2 separate regions of the Homo sapiens genome follow, and region 1 is linked to region 2. Evidence: promoter capture Hi-C in 16 types of primary human blood cells and fetal thymus (Javierre and others, 2016). All regions are on one chromosome and are shown on one strand. Each heading gives the region's core, a stretch centred on a gene start or on the middle of the fragment in contact. The rest is flanking DNA. Distances are from core to core; before and after follow the strand shown. Region 1 overlaps TGS1 (trimethylguanosine synthase 1). Region 2 holds the start of RPS20 (ribosomal protein S20).

What was found. Contacts are between HindIII fragments. The CHiCAGO score rates a contact against its expected background, and 5 or more counts as called.
Region 1: a contact is called between a fragment that was not itself captured here and the fragment with the promoter of RPS20 in region 2, in 1 of 17 cell types (total B cells). The highest score is 6.5, in total B cells.

The regions. Positions count from the first base shown.
Region 1 is chr8:55,795,263-55,798,618 of GRCh38, reverse strand. It overlaps TGS1 (trimethylguanosine synthase 1), which reads right to left. Exons shown (of 13, transcript NM_024831.8): 7 at 2,467-2,641. Among named protein-coding and RNA genes, the nearest start is that of TGS1, 23 kb to the right of the region's middle. The HindIII fragment of the contact is 1,251 bases long and covers 1,132-2,382 here.
Region 2 is chr8:56,072,664-56,075,850 of GRCh38, reverse strand. RPS20 (ribosomal protein S20) reads left to right here and starts at 1,345. Exons shown (of 4, transcript NM_001023.4): 1 at 1,345-1,470; 2 at 1,692-1,791; 3 at 2,083-2,156; 4 at 2,579-2,797. The coding sequence starts at 1,468. The coding sequence ends at 2,761. SNORD54 (small nucleolar RNA, C/D box 54) reads left to right here and starts at 1,950; the gene lies at 1,950-2,012. CERNA3 (competing endogenous lncRNA 3 for miR-645) reads right to left here and starts at 1,259. Exons shown (of 2, transcript NR_149110.1): 1 at 971-1,259; 2 at 577-844. The HindIII fragment of the contact is 15,741 bases long and covers 1-1,617 here.

The DNA.
Region 1 (3,356 bases), core at 508-3,007, 280 kb after region 2:
ATAAGGGTTCTTAACAATTTAACTGTGCTACAGCTACATTACAAATGTACCTACTTACTACTGAATCATTAATTTTAGTTTTTCAAATTATATAGACCTTTCTGCAATGGTCAAGCTACAATCTATGTAAATGTTACTTAGCATCAAAGACGAACCCTAAAAAGATTTAGGGCCAATTCTTCTGTAAGAATAGAAGCAGTCTACCTTGGAAAAAAATCAAAGTTGCCTTTTAATGCAACAGTAGAGCCAGTAAGATATGTCCCAGCAAATGTTTGTTCTTTGGAATGTAAACAAGGCTCAGCATCAGATCATATACTTCTTTGCATCTTCTGTAACAAGAATATTCTTCCTATCTTGTCTTCATGACCTTCCTGAGAGTGAGTAAATTAGAATGAAGTGGTAGACATGATGGGCAACAACCCAGAATCTTCCTCTAAAGAAATGTGCCTATAAATAAATTAGGTATCTAAGTTAGACACAACAGTTACATATCTTTTTTCCTCAGCAATGCTTAGTAGCTGTTTCTGCACTCATCTATAGATGAATGCATAGGGGCTATTATATCCAACACATTACGGAAAGTCCTATGGCACTGACTGGACTAATACTAGGCAGTCTGTTTCAGATATAACTAGCACCACGAACATATTTATTAAAACATCACCAGCAGCCAACCAACCTGAAATGTAATACAAAATAAAACCAGCTATATATATGTAGCATATTTTACAAGTATGCTGAAGTTAGGGAGGACACTGTATTGAGGGGAAAAAGAGTCATCTGACTAGCCTTAAAAAACGAACAACAGAGACAGAGACATCATGGAGTCTAAGATTATGGTCTACTGTCCTGAAGAGCTGCTGGAGATGTGATTGACATGAAGGTTCTGCTCATTAGAAAGTGTTTTTTACCCCTTAGAATATAGAAAGGTAATTCATCACACCAAGCAATTTTCTAACTACTTTTGTTTCCCAGGTACTTGGATGGCAGGTATAGCAAAGTCCAATATATGAATATTTCAGGTAATAATGTGAATCAATAAATTGGCCTGTGTTTCATGCTATCAGGGTGAACTTGTTACAAGGTGTAAACTGTGACTGATCACTTCTGGAAGAACTCAGAATTAAAGCTTATAATATAAAGCTGTATCAGAATTTGGACTATTAGGATCCTACTGGTATGGTTTGGCTGTGTCCCCACCCAAATCTTATCTTGAATCATAGTTCCCATAATCCCCACGTGTTGTGGGAGGAATCAGGTAAAGATAGTTGAATCATGGGGGCAGTTTCTCCCACTCTCTTCTTGTGATGGTGAGTTAGTTCTTATGAGATCTGATGGTTTTATAAGGTGCTTCCCCCTTTGCTGGGCACTCATTTCTCTCTCTAGCTGCCATGTGAAGAAGGAGTTGTTTGCTTCCCTTTCCACCATAATTTTAAGTTTTCTGAGGCCTCCCCAGCCCTGCAGAACTGTGAGTCAATTAAACCTCTTTCCTTCAAAAATTATCCAGTCTTGGGTATGTCTTTATTAGCAGCCCGAAAACAGACTAATACACCTACCTAGCCTAAAACAGATGAGAAATTGTTCCTTGTTCTTGTCTGTTACTACATAGGCAAGGTTGTGTTTTTTTTTTGAGACAGTCTTACTCTGTCTCCCAGCCTAGAGTGCAATGGCACAATCTCAGCTCACTGCAACCTCCACTCCCAAATTTCAAGCAATTCTCCTGCCTCAGCCTCCCGAGTAGCTGGGATTACAGGCACCCGCCATCATGCCTGGCTAATTTTTATATTTTTAGTAGAGATGGGGTTTCACCATGTTGGCCAGGCTGGTCTCGAACTCCTGACCTCAGGTGATCCATCCGCCTCAGCCTCCCTAAGTGCTGGGATTACAGGTGTAAGCCACCATGCCCGGCCAAGGTTGCGTGTTTTTTTTTGAGATGGAGTTTTGCTCTTGTTGCCCAAGTTGAAGTGAAAAGGCGCGATCTCGGCTCACTGCAACCTTCGCCTCCCGGGTTCAGGCGATTCTCCTGCCTCAGCTTCCCAAGTAGCTGGGATTTCAGGCAAGCGCCACCATGCTCAGCTAATTTTGTATTTTTAGTAGAGACAGGGTTTTCCATGTTGGTCAGGTTTGTCTGGTACTCCCGACCTCAGGTGATCCACCTGCCTCAGCCTCCCAAATTGCTGGGATTACAGGTGTGAGCCACCACGCCTGACGGCTGCGTTTTTTAAATAATCTCAGACACTAGTACTTTGTAGCTTTCAAACACTTCCTTTTCACCCTACCTCAACTTGCCTTTTTTCAGATTTAGTTTACATAATATATGCCTTCAAGAAGCAAGTAAAAAAAAAAAAAATTATGTACCTTGATACCTGGTAGAAACAAGCTTCCTATTTGAATACAACAATTTTAAGAGGTCAAACTTACAAAACATGATTCTATCTACAAATATGCAACAAAATTTATACATACCTTACTCAGAATTTTGCTTTTCTTGAAAAATGGTTTTTCTGACTCTTTGGTAAAGAAGATGTGTTTGTTTTTCATCTTTATTTGTCTGCGCATGTCTAGGTACTTAGACTTAAGCTTCACATTCTTCTCTAAATACCTGACCTGCCGATGACTGAAATTTGGGATTCCACCATATCTGTGACAGATCAAAAGAAGTTATTCACAACTTAAATTCTAGGATTATATTTCCTTATAGGAAAAGAGGATGAAACTAACATTTTCACTCATTTTTACACCATTTTAATTCCCTTTTTAAAATTATGAAAATGATAAAATCAAGTTCAACTTGCAGAAGAGTTGATGGTCTAACTTTCATGTTAATTCTAAAGCAAATGTGTAACACCAAAGTTGGGAAGTGCAACATACCTAATATAGAGGAGAAAGTAGAAATTACATAGTAGACTGCAATAAATAAATAGTAAAACAAACAAACAAACAAACGAAAACCCTATCCCCTTGTTAGGGAAATATAAATATATAAATATTTTCAAGGTGGGGTGATGTCAAAGCTCTTTAACACATTTCTGGATACATTTGAATTATCTAAATCAATCTGAGCTTACAAAAGAAGCGAACCCTTCGTATCAAAATAATTAGAGAATGCCTGATTTAACCATCTGAAATTTTCCAGTCCTAAAAGATATGTATCTGCTATGAAGCCTCCTTTGATTATATTAAGCCTCAATTAACTCCCTCTCCGACAAACTGTTAGGGACTTAAGAGTGTCACGTACACTTTAGCATTTATAAAATCCAGAATAGTCTGGGTTTAAATATCAGGTCTCACTTTGTAGCCATATTATAAACTTCTTTTAATAAACAGGATATTTTATCCTTCTCTTTTAAGTAGAA
Region 2 (3,187 bases), core at 96-2,595:
AGTCCTGACGGGGCGAGCGCGGTGGCTCACGCCTGTAATCCCAGCACTTTGGGAGGCCGAGGCGGGCCTGAGATCTGGAGTTTGAGACCAGCATGATCAACATGGAGAAACCCCGTCTCTACTAAAAAAAAAAAAAAAAAAAAAAAAATTAGCCGGGCATGGTGGCGCATGCCTGTAATCCCAGCTACTCCGGAGGCTGAGGCAGGAGAATCGCTTGAACCCAGGAGGCGGAGTTTGCGGTGAGCCGAGATCGCGCCATGGCACTCCAGCCTGGGCAACAAGAATGAAACTCCGTCTCACAAAAAAAAAAAAACAAAACAAACAAAAAAAAAAAACAACAAACAGGCCTGGACGGAGGGGTCAGAGCTCTGTCCCTCCCCATTTCAGAGTGTTTGAGCAAATAACTCTTTCGGCTCAGAGCTTCAGGTGGAAAGTAATATGAGATGATTTTACTCTTCTTTCTGCCCTGTATCAAAATCCATCTCAGTGATTTCCACGTATTTAGCCCCGGCTTCTTGCTCAGGTGTAGGTGAGCTCACCCTGCGCTCTCTCCCACTGCTCAGCTCAGTTGACCATTCGGGTTTTCCACTATACTTGGTCACTTATGTGATTATGAACAGATGTTCAGTATTAAGAAGACCCTGGGGGATCTTATCCAATGACTTTATCCAACAGAAAGGAGATGAGGTATCAGGACTGGGTGGCTAGCCAGGTTCCAGGCCGGGCCTCAGGATAGCTGCGCAGCCTGGCATTTTCGCCTCACTTTCCAGAAGGACGAGAAGCCAAGTTCAGGTCCTTTCCAGAAATAGATGTAGATACTTCTGCTGGACTGGGAAGCCAGGAGCTGAAATATCACAACAGGACGTTTCAGGCTATGAAAAATAACTGCTTACTAATTCTAACGTAAGTTATCCAGATTACGAGAAGCATTTCTGCCAATGCTCATGTCAGCTAAGCTCAGAGAAGTTACCTCATCCTCAGAGAGCAACGAATGGTATGGTCTATGTAGAAAGCAAAATTTGCAACGGAAAAACCAGAGTTCGTGTGCACTTTATGAGGAAGAGGGTTAGGTGCACCAGACAGAGGAGTTTCTCAGGTTTCCGTGTCGCCTGTTCTCTCGACCAGGTGGCCCTCTCGGCGCAGGCGGGGACCCCACCCTGCGGGACTTCGGCTCCTCCGTGCGGACAGGGGGCGCCCGCAGCCGTGCCTTTCCCGCCAACTCCACTAGTGCTCCAGCTCGCCCTTGTGCGACCGCCTCTAGGGCCCGGGATATTTCCTGTTCCGGGGCGTGTGGGACCCGGATGCAAGCGTGCTATATAAGCGTTGCTCAAGTCCCACCCCTTTCTTTTTGAGGAAGACGCGGTCGTAAGGGCTGAGGATTTTTGGTCCGCACGCTCCTGCTCCTGACTCACCGCTGTTCGCTCTCGCCGAGGAACAAGTCGGTCAGGAAGCCCGCGCGCAACAGCCATGGTGAGGCGGCAGTCGGCGGCGGGCGGCGCAACGCAGGGCTCGGGCGCCGGGGGGACCCCGGTTTCGAGTTCGTGCTCCTGAGGGCAGATGCCGGGGCGTGTAGGGGCGGAAAGGCGCTCCTGAAATGGTGGGGAAACGCGGGAAGCTTCCGGAAGCTGCCTTTCTCCAGAAGTGGCAGACCATTTTTGGCTTATTGTTCTTTTTCATGTATCTAATAATAGGCTTTTAAGGATACCGGAAAAACACCCGTGGAGCCGGAGGTGGCAATTCACCGAATTCGAATCACCCTAACAAGCCGCAACGTAAAATCCTTGGAAAAGGGTCAGTGCATTCGTTATGCGGGGGGGAGGGGGAATTGGGCGAAAAGCGACGAGCTTTACTCGTTAATGTTAGTGTAGAAGGTGGACTGCAAGAACTAAAGTGACAAGTTACTTAAAAAAGTAAAGCGTGGCTTAAAATTGCTTTTACTGTCATACAGCTGGCGATGAGGAGGTACCTATTGTGTTGAGTAACGGTGATAATTTTATACGCTATTCTGAGCCAGCAGAAGTGAAGGCCTTAAGCCGATTTTAATTGTTTCGATTATACTGAGAGGTCTTTTATTTCCTGTAGTGTGTGCTGACTTGATAAGAGGCGCAAAAGAAAAGAATCTCAAAGTGAAAGGACCAGTTCGAATGCCTACCAAGGTAAAGTAAATCGGAGGGGCAGGAAGTAGGAGTTGCTTCCGGATGTTGCATAAATTCAGGTTCTTTAAGGAGTTCGGCTGCCAAAATTGTTAACACTGATGCTGTCTACAAACGCACATAGAAATCGGTGGTAGATTGCGGTTCCTAGTAAGTAGCTAATGTTTAGATATGATTGTTGAATTATTGTTGCTGTGTTCTTGGTGTGCTTTGGTGCTTAACAGGCGCAAGCTCTAAGGGTGGTGTCCTAGCACAGTGAAAACAGACCTGGCATTTTCAACCCATGGTACCTGAAAATCTATTAGTGTAAATTGGAATCATACCAAAGGGAAACTAATGAAATGATTAGAAGTAATGATTTTCCAGATGTTCTAGGGATAAGTATAAAACGATAAACACTTGGTTTCCTTTGTCTTTTGTTACAGACTTTGAGAATCACTACAAGAAAAACTCCTTGTGGTGAAGGTTCTAAGACGTGGGATCGTTTCCAGATGAGAATTCACAAGCGACTCATTGACTTGCACAGTCCTTCTGAGATTGTTAAGCAGATTACTTCCATCAGTATTGAGCCAGGAGTTGAGGTGGAAGTCACCATTGCAGATGCTTAAGTCAACTATTTTAATAAATTGATGACCAGTTGTTAACTTCTGTTGGTTTTTATTCAGAATACTGGCAGATTTTAGGAATATAAAGGTGTACTATGAGACTTCCACTTTTCAGGTGGAATATATGGGTATCTTAGAGTGGTCTATCCTGTTTTCGTTGTCGTTTGAGTCATTTGAAAACTGGATTCCGTTAACTACATAATATGTGAGACCTGACTGGTTTTATTGGACACTGGCAGTTTATAACTTTGGCATACTCTAGATAAATTCTGATTGGTATGGGGTGTTAAGGTTTCTGGGGCGTTTGTAATGCACACCCATGGTTGAGAACCTAGTGCGCTAGTAGGCACGTGTTAAAAAGCTAGTAACTAATATTTTTAAATTAACCAAGTTTAACGTCCTTAAAAAAGGATTAAGTGGCAGAGGCAG